Regions from separate parts of the Homo sapiens genome. Here regions 1 and 3 are each linked to region 2. Evidence: promoter capture Hi-C in 16 types of primary human blood cells and fetal thymus (Javierre and others, 2016). All regions are on one chromosome and are shown on one strand. The core of a region is centred on a gene start or on the middle of the fragment in contact, and the rest is flanking DNA. Distances in the headings are between cores, read along the strand shown. Region 1 has its middle 14 kb from the start of TRV-CAC1-3. Region 2 holds the start of FLT4 (fms related receptor tyrosine kinase 4). Region 3 holds the start of RASGEF1C (RasGEF domain family member 1C).

Region 1 (4,313 bases), core at 347-2,846, 470 kb before region 2:
GGCCATAAACTGGATCCTATGACGGATCCTCATTTCGTTTCTGTAACATGCACTTTTCGTTTTTTAAACTCATCTGTTGGCAAGGTCTCTATTCCGGCAGTTTTGGATTGGATGACTTCCATCACGCCCCTCCCAGCTTCAGTCTCATGGTGGTTGCTCATCTCCTTCATTTACTTGGCATCTCCTTAAATTTACTCATATGTTTATCATTTATACAATTACTTTAGCTTAATTACAAGCAACACTAGCAAGAACTTCAAGTTTCAAGGTGCAAGTTACCTGCCCGCCAAGGCTGCATTAAAGCCTTATGTGAACATTATTATGCTCTGGGCCACAGGAATCATTTTGCACACTGCAACGGTCACTCAGCTGATCCCTGGGAAACACTAACTGCCTCGCTGCTGTGTTTGGGGGTCTGTTTTTATGGTTTAGCATTCCCTAACAGCTTTATTGGGGCACAGTTCAATACAATAAAATCCACTCATTGTAAGTTTACAGCTCAATGATTTTTAGTCACTGTATACAGTTCTGCAACCATCACCACAATCCACTTTTAAAACAGTTCCTTTGTCAGAAAAATTTCCTGCATCCCCATCTGCAGCCAACCCTGGCTCTCAGCCTCCAACCTAGACAACCAGTGATCTGGTTTCTGTCTGTATTGATCTGCCTTTCCTGTAAATTTCATATAAATTCCATTCATATAAACGATATGAGTGGAATTGCTATGTTGTAAGTTTCACTTTGCTATACCAAAAGGTTAAGCATACGGTTACTATACAACCCATCAACTCCAGTCCTCGGTATATACACAAGAGAATTGAAAACGTGTTTATGTAAAGAATTGTACTCAACTGTTTATGGTATCATTGTTCATGATAGCCAAAAAGTGGAAACAACATAAATGTCCATCAATTGATGAATGGATAAACCAAATGTGTATTGAAGCGGCCTCGTTGTCTGGGATAATACTCGAGGTTCATTGTCTCATGGTGATGGAGATCAAGGATGTGAACACACAAAGAGTGAGATTAAAAGCAGAAGATTTTTGTTTGTTTGTTTTGTTTTGTTTTTGAGATGGAGTCTCACTGTCACCCAGGCTGGAATGCAGTGGTGCCATCTCAGCTCACTGCAACCTCTGCCTCCCGGGTTCAAGCAATTCTCCTGCCTCAGCCTCCCAAGTAACTGGGATTACAGGCGTGTGCCACCACGCCCGGCTAGTTTTTGTATTTTTAGTAGAGATGGAGTTTCATCATGTTGGCCAGGCTGGTCTCGAACTCCTGACCTCCTGCCCACCTCGGCCTCCCAAAGTGCTGGGATTACAAGTGTGAGCCACCACACCTGGCCAAGAGCAGAAGTTTAATAGGTGAAAGAAAGATAACCACTCTGCTACAGAGAGGGGTCTCAGAAAAATGGGCTCCTGGATCCACAGTGAAATGCAGGGGGTGTTACTGATGAGCTGGTGAGGAGGTGGTGTCTGATCTACATCGGGCGAGAAAAACTGGGTGGACCAGGCGTGCCATTTGCATAGGCCACAAATCTCTGGTAGTCCCCATACTAATCTTTTATTACGCAGATGGGTTCTCTGCCTGAGCTGCCCCGTGTTCTCCATTTCTTTTCTTTTCTTTCTCTTTTTTTGCTAGTTTGTGTAATAATTTTACTGCATAAGAAATTACAGAGATTGCATAAATCATTAGGTCAACAGCATGCAGAGAACAACAAAGCAAAACATTGTTTGGATCAAATAAAAAACAGCAGGAACAACTCAATTCTTAAAAATACCATAAATGTGGCTCCATTTGAGAGAAAATTTTGCATTTTCTGGATAGAGTAATTTCTGTAGTTTCATTAAGCAAAAATGGAAAACAGCTTTTCAGTTAAAAACACTCAAAAGCAACTTGCACAGATGTGTTGCCCTCTTCACCCTGGATGTAACAAACATAAAGATGTGAGGCTGCCTGCCCTTGCCTAAAGCATGGCTTGAACTTTCTATTGATAGTAATCGATTATGCATAACCACCTATGTATTGAAATTGTGCAAGTCAGAGCATCCAAAACTACTGCAAGAGTCAATTTCTTCCTGTGGGGAACAGCATGTAGCTGTACTACATGTTAAAATTTCCATTCCTCGTTCGATTATTTGCCCTATTCCAGACATAAAAATACAAATAAATATTTTCTTACAAACGAAGTTCACAGTATATTGCTTTAAAAAAAGAGAGATTAAAAAAACAAGAATCTTAATTTGCTTTTTCATTAAATAAAAATGCTAACATACAGACACATTCAATATTTATACAAATTGTAGGAGTCAGTCTATCCTTTCTTGGTCATAATTGAAGTTTAATAGTGCTGGTCCATACACGACAAGGCTCAGATCCCAAATGTACGTTCAATTCTACTAAAAGTTGCTCAAGATAATTTTTTTCTCTTTTTCTGTTTAATTAAAAAAGACAATTTTGGAATTTTAGAATTACATTTGAGTTGTCTGAAAAAATACAATTTCAATGAAAAAATCATATCAAGCATTCAAGAGTATATTGCTGGTGCTATCATCTTTTTGCGCCGAAAAAAATCAATAAAATCACATGTCTGAGACTTTTAAATGGTTAAATGTAACCACATACTATTAAAGATATGCTCATGCACACACACACTCAGACTCCAAACATGAAGGAAAAAGGATCAGCGTCTTTCTGTTGCATTTGCATTCTCCTTAGTTCCTGATGCCGTGGGGTGAAGCTGCAAGGAGACTTCATAGCGTTTCTTGGCCGAGTCTAGGTGTCCCCAGCGATGATAAAGCACAGCCAAATTACCACGGTAACTTGAAGCATTTGGATTTGCTTTAATTGCCTTGAGGAGTCAGGCTTCCGATTCCTTGTATTTCTGGGATTTCCCCAGCACGTTTGCCAAGGAGAACACGAGAGAGTGATCATCAGGTATTAATTCCAGCGCGTCTCTTCCAACTGCCTCGGCTTGGGCTGCACTACCTGGGTCGTGAGCAGTGTAACCACGTTGTTCCAGGCCAGGCTGCGCGCTGGTTTCAGCTCGGTGCATTTCTCCACGCATTGAAGGCGTCCACCTGGCGATTGAGATCAGCAGACGCCGGAGGCTGTAGTAACGGTCTGGGTATTTCCTTCTGTTTACTCGCCGTCGGGTAACTTTGCTTGGCGGTTTCAAAGCGTTTCAGGCTGCTCCGCGCTATGCCTAGACTCATCCACGCAGCAGCAAAGTCTGGCTGCATTTGAACAGCCAAAGACAGCAGCTCCTCAGCTTCCTGTAGCTCATTCCTTTCTTTTAAGACATTTGCAAGATTATTCACGGCATGAACATACTTGGGATTTAAGCTTACAGCTTCCCGGTGGTATCTGATGGCGCCCGTCTGGTTGCCTTTAGCAGCCAGGTTTCTGCCGATGTTGCAGCGAACCTCAGCACTGAGGGGACACACAGACACAGCGCCTCTGAAAACCGCCCCTCGCTCCGCCACTCGCCGCCGCGCACCGCGCATCTCAGCCTCTCAGCATCTTGCTGAGTAGGATTCCCAGCACCACGGCAGCGATGAGCTTCTTTTTCTCGGTGTGTTTGCGCAGGCTCCGAATCCAAAAAGCAGCATCACACAGCACCCCACGCTCGGGACCACGAAGCCCGCTCGGAAGAACAGGTTACTTGCGGGGAGAAACGGGATAACGAGCAATCCCAGGCGCAGAGTAAGGATCCTTCTCTGGTGGCCGTCTGCAGAGCACAGGGCTTGGCGTATGAGGCCAACTGGGCGGAACCAGAGCGCTGCAAATGCAGTTACCCTCCAGTCGCTGAGGGACTTCATGAGGGGGCTGCAGCCCACTGACCAATCAAAACACAGCCACCAGGGACGCAGCAGCAGCAGCCAGGCATTCAATGAATAGGAGTAATTGTCGTTTATGGCCCTCGCCAGCACGCGGTCAGCAAAGGAGGCCCAGTTGTCCTCCTCGGTGAAGGCCGGCGGGCCCGGGCCTATGATCCTCCAGCGCACGGAGAGCATCCCAGCCCCTCCGGAGGCGAGCAGGGTCATTCTGAAGAGGAGTCCCGGTTCCTGAGCATGCCAAGATTCTCTCATGACTTGTCCTTATGTGGTACCTTCTGGACAATTTCCAGAACATTGAATTTGCCTCTCACCAAGATGTCAAACACCACGTTCCAACCCAGCACGGTGATCCCTTTCTCTTTGCACAGCATGGCCACTGCTCCCAGAAAGATGCTCAGCAGCACCCAGAAGGTGGAAGAACGTGCTGCCTCCTTATTACTGTCTCTAAATGCTTTACAATAGCCACGGAAGGATA
Region 2 (4,350 bases), core at 1,002-3,501:
AGTAATAGACACTGGAGACTCCAAAAGCAGGGAGGGAGGGCAAGAGGTAAGGACTGAAAAATCACCTTTTGGGTAGAGTGTCCACTGTACAGGTGACGCGTACACTAAAAGCCCAGACTTCACCTGTACACAATATATGAATTAAGAAATCTGCACTTATGTCCTCTAAGTATACTTTAAAATTTTAAAAGCACATTCTGGCTGGATGCGGCGGCTCATCCCTGTCATCCCAGCATTCTGGGAGGCTGAGGCAGGTGGATCACTTGAGCCCAGGAGTTCAAGACCAGCTTGGGCAACGTGGCGAAAACCCAGCTATGCAAAAAAGTCACTGGGTGTGGTGGCGCACATCTGTGGTCCCAGCTACTTGGGAGGCTGAGGTGGGAGGATCATTTGAGCCCGGGGGGTGCTGAGGCTGCGGTGAGCAGATATCATGTCACTGCACTCCAGCCTGGGTGACAAAGTGAGACCCTGTCTAAAACAACAACAACAACAAAAAAAAAACAAGTATATTCTGGGCGGGGCACAGTGGCTCATGCCTATAATCCCAGCACTTTGGGAGGCTGAGGTTGGCAGATCAGGAAGTCAGGAGTTTGAGACCAGCCTGGTCAACATGGTTAAACCCCCATCTCTACTAAAAATACAAAAATTAGCCGGGCATGGTGCCGGGTGCCTGGAATCACAGCTACTCAGGAGGCTGAGGCGGGAGAATTGCTTGACCCCAGGAGGCAGAGGTTGCATTGCAGTGCAGTGAGATCGTCCCACTGCACTCCAGCCTGGGCAACAAAAGAGAGACTTTGAGAAAAAAAAAAAAAAGTACATTCTGAAAAAAAAAGCAAAACATATATTTTGATGATAAAATGATAAACAAAAGCAGGGAAATGATAATGCCAGGGTAGTGGGCATCTTCTGGGGTTGGTGAGGGGTTTGTGATGGGAAGTGAGGGGATGTGGGGATGTCATTCTACATCCCTTGGCCTGGAGAATGGAAACACAGGTATTTGTTGCTTTAAAATTCAGGTTTATAATATGCTGATATATTATGTACTTTCCATAAGTGTGTTACATCTCATAATCTTTCAAAGCTAAAAAAAATCAATATATGATTGATAAATACCTAACTTCATGTATCGCTTGGTTACCTAGTTTCCCCAACCTTATTTGTTAAATTATCTACACTATCCGCACTGATTTGTGATTCCAGCTTAATAATATAGCCACTTCTTACCTGGATTGGAGAGAGCTGGTAGTGGTTATTGAAAATCTACTCTTGCTTTTTGGCGAGGATGAAAGGGCTTTGGGGGGCGGGGGTGGGGGGATGGAAAATGTGAATGAAACGAAAAGCAGGGAAGGAGGTTGAGACAGTCATGGTCATGGGCTTCATTATTAAACAGGAAAATTCTAGAGACAAACTGAAAAGAGAACGGAAGTCTGTAAGAGGGTTGCCAAGTCAGAAAGCAAAAGCAAAGTGTCGCTTTATTAAAAAGGTGGGGGCGGGTCCTGATTGAGCTGAGAACAAAACATCTGGGGGAGTTCTAAAGCTAGGAGGCCAGGCCTGCAGGGAGGGGGTCGGTCATCCCGGGTGTCCCGCTCACGGGTGCGGCTTCCGTCGACACTGTCCGTCGACACTGTGCAGGTAAACACTGCTGAACGGGTTTTGTTTTTGCTTTTTTTTTTTTTTTTTTGGCTCCCAGACTGGAGTGCAGTGGCGCGATCTCGGCTCACTGCAACCTCCTTCTCCCGGGTTCAAGCGATTCTCCTGCCTCAGCCCCCCCGAGAAGCTGGGATTACAGGCGCGCACAACCAAGCTCGGCGTATTATTTTATTTATTTGCTTGTTTATTTTTGAGACTGGGTCTCCCTATGTTACGCCGGCTGGTGCCACTATTTTCAAAGATGTAACATACTATTTTTACAAGGATTGCTTTCTTGTTTAGTCTAGATTTTACCGATGGAAAGAAAGGACGGAAAAGAGCGCGTGCCGCATTTTGCTCCCCTTTGCCCACCAGGCTCCATCACCTCCGGAGCGCATCGCGAGACCGTCTGCGTTACCCGCGTCCCCGCGCCCGGAGCCGCCCAGGAGGGGGCCCGGACCCTGTGGTGCGGAGCGCGCACTGCTCGGGTGCACCGGACGCCCCGCGGCGGGCTGGGAGGGACGGGGGGAGGGGGGCGCGGGGAGCGGCCTGAATCCCGGGCCCGCCTCCGGCCCCCGCCCCGCCCCGCCCCGCCCCAGGCCAGCCGGCGCCCGCGCGGACACTTTCAGCCCCGAGCCGCGGCCGCTCGGGTCGGACCCACGCGCAGCGGCCGGAGATGCAGCGGGGCGCCGCGCTGTGCCTGCGACTGTGGCTCTGCCTGGGACTCCTGGACGGTGAGCGCGGCGAACGGGCCACCCGCCCGAGCGTGGGGCTGGCCGGGGAGGGGGTACCGCGCACCTGGGGCGGGCGCTGAGACCGCTCCGCCGGGTACGGGCGGGGGACACGGTGGCCCTGGTGCGCGGACGCCTGAGGGGAGCACGGCGCTTGGGGCGCGGGACCTCGGGATGAGGAAGGGGCGGGCGGGGACCGCAGCCGGGTCAGGGCCAGGGCGGCCGGGCCGCGCCTCGGCGCAGGGGTAGCTCTCCCGGCCCCTGAATCCGCGTCTCCGTCGGTGGCTCCGCGTCCTCGGAGCCGGGCCCTGCCGGGCTGCGCGCTGAGCCCGGATCCTTCGCGCCCTTACTCGCTTCCCCGCGGGGTCCCCGCGCCGCGCCGTCCCGACCCACGCGCGCCGGAGATCCATCCCGGCCGGGCCCCGGACTTGGGTGCGCACTTCCCGACGCCCAGCGCCTCCGCTCGCGGTCGGTCCCCCAGAGGGCGCTCGAGGCGGGCTTCCCCCTCCCCGTGGCCGGCGACGGCGGGGACAGGGGCCGGGGACCACCGCGCGCCCGAGGCGGACGGGTGCAGGTGCACGCTGGCACTTGAGACGAATCTTGAGGAGGCGAATCGCGGGCTGTCAGCGCCGCAGAAGGGGCGGAAGGCCAGGGGTCCCCGGATTTGAGGGGACAGGGGCCTCGAAGGCCAGCTGAGGAGCAGAGGCCCCCGCGGGAGGGTCCCCTGCACAGGAGAGGCGGGGTTCGGTTTGTGTTGGGATGTGGCTCTGGCGGGGAGAGACGCAGACCTGAAGCGGAGGCGGAGGGGTTGGAAAGAGGGACTGTGGGGGATGAGCGGGCGGCAGAGGGAGTGGATGGAGATGTCAGGGAGGAAGCTGAGAAGATGAGCTGGGAGTCCCCACGGAGCTGGTGTCCCTGGAAATCAAAGGGTGTAAGGGCGGGGTCAGGGGTTCCAGTGTCTGAAGCCCTGAAGTCAGCGACGGGGACCTCAACATTTCTGCACGCCATAGGAATTAAATACTGGCTTTACATGCTTGTAATTCTCACAGGGAGTGTCAGACCCATTTTACACATGGAGAAGCTTAGACCAAGGACATGTGTCACTTCCCCAAGGTCCCCAGGAGGCCCAAAGTAAGCCTGACAAAGCCTGCCTTTGCTCACCACCTGTATGTCCACTGGCTGAAGGGCAGAGGACAGGAGAGGGGGCAGGTCTGGCTCAACCAGGGGAGGAGGGAGGAGAACATCTATCTGGGCCTCCGAGTCGGGCAGGCCAGATCAGGGCGCTGCCCTTGGCCCTCCTGGACCCAGCCCAGGACCAGGCTCCCACAGGTGCTCAGGATGTATTTGTCGAGTGGCTGGTAGACCTTGGTTGGACTGCAGGGCTGTAGAATGGGAGACGCTTATCCTGGAGGAGACATGGGACAGGCACCTGGGCGCAGTGTCTGAGCTGGGCTGAGTAGCTGGAGAGGAAGAGAGAGACCCGGGAGGGGAACCCTGGAGGAGGGGCCCAGAGGGCAAGGGGGCTTCCAGGGATCCAGGGAACATTCTGCAGGTATAAGGAGAACCAGGAGAGGCCAGTGTCCTGGTGCTCCCGGGTGGAGCACAGAGGGACGTGGGGTGAAGGGTGAGGAAGCTATTCCCTGCAGTAAGTAGTGACTCTTAGTGACCCAGTTATGAAGAGGAGAGAGGGCATTAGTTGGGCGCCCCATGGAGAGGGGTGTCCTGGGCTGGACCTGGGTTTGGCTGGTGGGGAGATGGCAATGAAGACAGAGGTCATCCCTCCGTGAGCCCTGCACCTTGCTGTACCCCCTGCTAGGCTGAAGACCCCGGGAGCCCCCAGCTTGATGGGGGATGCCATGGCGGAAGCACAAGCCCTCAGCTGCAGTCGGGTGTCAGGGCAGCTGGTCCGGTGGGAGCTGCAGTCGGGTGTCAGGGCAGCTGGTCCGGTGGGAGCAGGCCAGAAGCCTGAGCATCCTGAAGCTGACCCCTT
Region 3 (4,461 bases), core at 1,252-3,751, 440 kb after region 2:
CGCGACTGCAGCTCATGCGTCTTCCTCAGCACAGGCCCAACTCTCGGCAGCGATGGGTCTGGCAGGGAGAGGACGCAGGAGACCTCAGGGGACACGGTCTTCTCCTTTGTCCCAGAGCAAAGCTCTGCCACCCTCACCCCTGTGGGACACGGAGCTGTGGCCATGAGCTAGTCCACACCCATGTTCCAGTTGCCCTGGCCTCATCCAAGCATCCCCTACCCTGCTCCCAGCAGGGCAATCATGCTTCAGTGGCCCCAGCCACTTGCTGGAGAAAGTTCTTTATCAGGGGACAGCAGCCTTTGCTCACAGAGCAAGGGTGAGCTGGGGAAAGACTGGCCTCACCACCCTGACCTGCACTTGGTTAGGAGGGCCGCTCAGTGCTGCCCAGACCCCAGAACAACACAGCTGAGTGGGTCAGCTCTTCTGAGGTGCCTCTTGCGGCCTCTCCTCCTAGACTCCTGGCTTCCTCCAGGCGACACCCTGGGACTGGACCTGAGGCTTAGGGGCATAGGGTGATAATCGGAGAAGATGCAGGGAGGGCCCAGTGCCTGCACCCTGAGGCGCATCTGTCTATCTGCTGGGAGCACACTGCTCACCCCTGACCAAGTGCCTGCCTCTGTTCCTCCTCCCTTTCCCCACACCTGACCCTTGGTCTCAGATGTCACCCTCCCTAGGGCCAGCCTCTGGCCCTGGCCCTGGCCCCAGCCCTGCTGTCTCCCTGCCTAGCTACCTGGCCCACATTCATTCTAATACATCTGTATGCCCTAGGCAGCTGCCTGCTCTCTCCAGGACTCAGTTTCCCTAACTGTTCAAGAAATGGGCTGGACTGTTGTTCTTAACCTGTCCATTCTTCCAGGAACAGCCTTCACGGAAGCTTGGAACAGCACCTTACTCCATCCTCAAAGCTGACACAGGACTAACTCTGCCTCAGCTCTAGTGAGACGACACCCAGGCCTGCTATTCCTGCTCCCTAGGTCTTTGGAAATGGCCTGAGCTCAGCTCCTCGGAGCCTGTGTGTGGCAGCCGCAGGCTGTCCTTGCAACTATCAGGCAGCTGTGCCCTCTCTGAGGTGTCAACCCAGGGCCATTCTGCCACAGAAAGACTGGGAGATAGGGGAGGCCAGTTTCTATGCACATAGGTTAAGTACCTGGATCTAGCCATTCCTCTAAGCAGTAAACCTTGGCTTTTTATGATCCACAAACCAGCTTTTTGCTCAAGCTGGTTGGGTTGAGTTTTGGGCCACATCTCATCAGGCAGGTCCTGACTAAAGCAGAGTGAGGTGAAGGCAGCTGGAACTTCCGTGTCGGGTGGGGACTTGGAGAACTTTTCTGGCTAGCTAGAGGATTGTAAATGCACCAATCAGCACTCTGTAAAAACGCACCAATCAGCACTCCGTGAAACGGACCAATCAGCAGGACATGGGTGGGGACAAATAAGGGAATAAAAGCTGCCCGCCCACCCCTCGCCAGCCAGCAACAGCGGCGACCGGCTGTGGTCTTTTTCCCTGCTGTGGAAGCTTTGTTCTCTTGCTCTTCACAAGACATTTTGCTGCTACGCACTCTTTGGGTCTGCACCACCTTTTTCTTTTCTTTTCTTTTTTTTTTTTTTTGAGATGGAGTCTTGCTCTGTCGCCCAGGCTACAGTGCAGTGGTGCAATCTCTGCTCACTGCAAGCTCCACCTCCCCGGGTTCACGCCCTTCTCCTGCCTCAGCCTCCCGAATAGCTGGGACCACAAGCGCCCACCACCAAACCTGGCTAATTTTTTTGTATTTTTAGTACAGACAGGGTTTCACCGTCGCACCACCTTTAAGAGCTGTAACACTCACTGCCAAGGTCCCTGGCTCATTCTTGAAGTCAGCCAGACCAGGAACCCAGCGGAAGGGACAAACTGCGGACACAGGAGGACAGGTGTCCTGACCTCTATGCTGGGACCAACCAGGGAACTTTTCACTGAAGACCCAGTTCAAGGAGGCCACTGGATCCTGTTAGAGCCCCTCTCCCTTTCTAAAAGTGAAATCATGCATCGCCATCCTCCCAGAACCCCGGTGTCTTCAAAGTGGTGTCCACCCTCCCTGGGGGCCACGGGAGAGCGCCGAGAAGGTTGGGGAGGGGGGGTGTCCACCCAGGGATGTCCCATTGGGGGACACAGACAACCTAGGTGGCCAGTCCAGAGAACCGGGCCGGGCCCAGTCTTGAGGAGAGAGGGTGAACTGGGTTTTGGGGCGCCAGAGGCCCACCAGGTGAGGTGTAGGCTGGGGCAGCTGGGGCGCAGAGTCCGCCAGGGTCCGCGCGCGGGAGGGCAGCGTCTGACGGCCCGAGCGGGTGGTCCTGGCGCGGGGGGCCAGCCGCCGCGGAGGCCTGAACGCAGGGCGGGACGCTTGGCTCCGCGGCCGGGGCACGGAGGGCCCTGGTGTGCAGCGCCGCCCGCGGGCTCCCGCAGCTCCACCCCCGCGCCCCGCCCGCTCCGCGCTGCCTGAGTGCCACGAGGGGGCGCAGCGCCGCGTTGCTCCGGGGCCGCCGCCAGGCGCTCGTGCGGGCTGCGCTGGGAGCCGGGCGGTCGGGCGGCGGCGGCGGCGGCGGCGGCGGCGGCGGCGGCGGCGGGCGGCGCCCCGGTCCGCGGCGCCGAGGCTCGCACCGGGAGCTGCCCATGGGCCGGGCCCGGAGTTCCGGCGCGCCGGGAGCCGGTGAGTGGTGCGCGGCCGAGGGACACCTGGCGGTGCGGGCAAGGGCGCGGGCTCGCGGGGGCTGGGGAGGGCTGCCGGCGGCGCGGCGGGGTCGGCGGGAGGCGGGAGGCTGCGCGCGGCGCGGGAGCGTGCGCCGGGGTCAGCAGGGGCGGGGTCCGCGCGGCCGCCGGGACTGGAGGCGCGGGGGTAGCGGGTAGGGTACCCTGAGGGCACACCCCCGGCCACCTGGCGGGAGACCCAGCTCTGCCGCGCGCCGCCAGCCCCTGCTGGGCGCGAGGAGCAAGCTTCTTTCAGCCGCTAGAGTGGCAGGAAGAGCCAGCCTAGACCAAAGCCTCCACCCGCACCGGACCTCAGTTTCCCCGTCTATGAAATGGGGACGGGAAAGCAGACCTGCCGGTGCACGTGCAGAAGGGAAAGGGCCTTGCGCCTGGGGGAAGAGGGTGCTGTCACCCTTGAGGATGGGATCGGATTTGAGGAAAGGACCAGCGCCACTATCAGAGGGCCTGCGAGAACAGTGGGGTCTGCTGGGAGTCCTGGGTGTGTCCCTCACGCAGTGACAGCGGACGGCATCAAGGGACCACCTGGTCCACTCATTGTATTTAGATTGGGAAAGCGATGCTTGGGGGGACTTGGGGAAGGGTGCTGGCGACGCCGCCCCATGCTCAGCGTGGGCGTGGGAAACTGTGGGAAAGACAGAGCTGGGAAGTTGGGGTGCTGGTGGAGCTCTTCCGGGCCCGTATCTCCTGCCTCCTGGGGCTGTGGGAGAGACAGAAGTTCTGAGCCCCGGGAGCCTGAGAAGAGTCCTGGGAAGCTCTGCCTGCCAGGCAGGTGGAGTAACTGAGGTTTAGAGAGGGGCGGGACCATGGAGTGGCAACGCTGGGGTCCCACCTCTGGTAAGACTGGCTCCAACAGCCATAGTGCAGCCACTGTGCAGGCGACCGGTGGAGGGGGGCTAGGGTTGTCCACTCACTGGCCACATTCATTGAGCGCCTACTGTGTGCCGCCTGCTGCCTGCCCCCGTAAGTGCTCACTAGCTGGTGTGGGAGGGGACACCAAACAAGAAATCAAAGGCAAAAGCAAGGACATGGCCAAGATCTTATGCGTGCTGGGAAGAACATGCAGTAGGGTGACTGGGGCAGAGGGAGACCAGGGCGCGGCGGAGCCTTCGTCTGGTCAGGGAGGCTGTCCTGAGCGGGGAGCCCAGCCTGTGATGGACGGGTAGCCCGGGGGAACAGCGCGGGTGAGATCCCTGAGGGCAGGAGGGGGCGGAGCTGGAGCTGAGACGCTACAGGGTCTGGACGTCCTGGGCAGCCCCCAGGCGGTTTGCAGGTTGGGCGTCGAAAGGCTGCCCGTGGCGGCGGGTGGGCGCACTGCCGGGGCAGGAGAGGGAGGGCAGGCGAGAGAGGGACGGGCTGCGGAGCCCAGGGCGGGACTGGCGAGGGGGAGCCCGCAGGCCACCAGGTAGAGGTGGGGCCCTGCCCGGGACCTGGCCCTTTTCAGGCCGGGGTCTGCACCCTCCTGCCATGTCCCCGCCAGTCTCTGAGGTGGTTCCAGCTCTCACTTGTACCTGGACCCAGATCCAGAGTCAGCCATTTGTCCAAGGGGCCTTGGTTCCTTGCGTGGGACCCGGGCTTAGTGTGGGGCGTGCACTCGCCGCCTCTAGGCCTTGTCAGTGGACCAAGCCAAGGCCCCTTTTTTACTAAAAATTAATATTTCCTTTCCCTTTCTCCTGCAGTGAGAACCTTATTCCCCCAAACATGAATATATTTCATCATTT

The links. Contacts are between HindIII fragments. The CHiCAGO score rates a contact against its expected background, and 5 or more counts as called.
Region 1: a fragment that was not itself captured here is called in contact with the fragment with the promoter of FLT4 in region 2 in 1 of 17 cell types (neutrophils); the score reaches 5.2 in neutrophils.
Region 3: the fragment with the promoter of RASGEF1C here is called in contact with the fragment with the promoter of FLT4 in region 2 in 2 of 17 cell types (erythroblasts and endothelial precursors); the score reaches 11.6 in erythroblasts.

What each region holds. Positions count from the first base shown.
Region 1 is chr5:181,114,039-181,118,351 of GRCh38, reverse strand. It overlaps the pseudogene LOC729707. Among named protein-coding and RNA genes, the nearest start is that of TRV-CAC1-3, 14 kb to the right of the region's middle. The HindIII fragment of the contact is 3,501 bases long and covers 1-3,346 here.
Region 2 is chr5:180,647,501-180,651,850 of GRCh38, reverse strand. FLT4 (fms related receptor tyrosine kinase 4) reads left to right here and starts at 2,251. Exons shown (of 30, transcript NM_182925.5): 1 at 2,251-2,363. The coding sequence starts at 2,306. The HindIII fragment of the contact is 6,264 bases long and covers 1-3,443 here.
Region 3 is chr5:180,207,251-180,211,711 of GRCh38, reverse strand. RASGEF1C (RasGEF domain family member 1C) reads left to right here and starts at 2,501. Exons shown (of 14, transcript NM_175062.4): 1 at 2,501-2,684. RefSeq lists a silencer at 2,366-2,585 and an enhancer at 3,710-4,461. The HindIII fragment of the contact is 1,452 bases long and covers 1,519-2,970 here.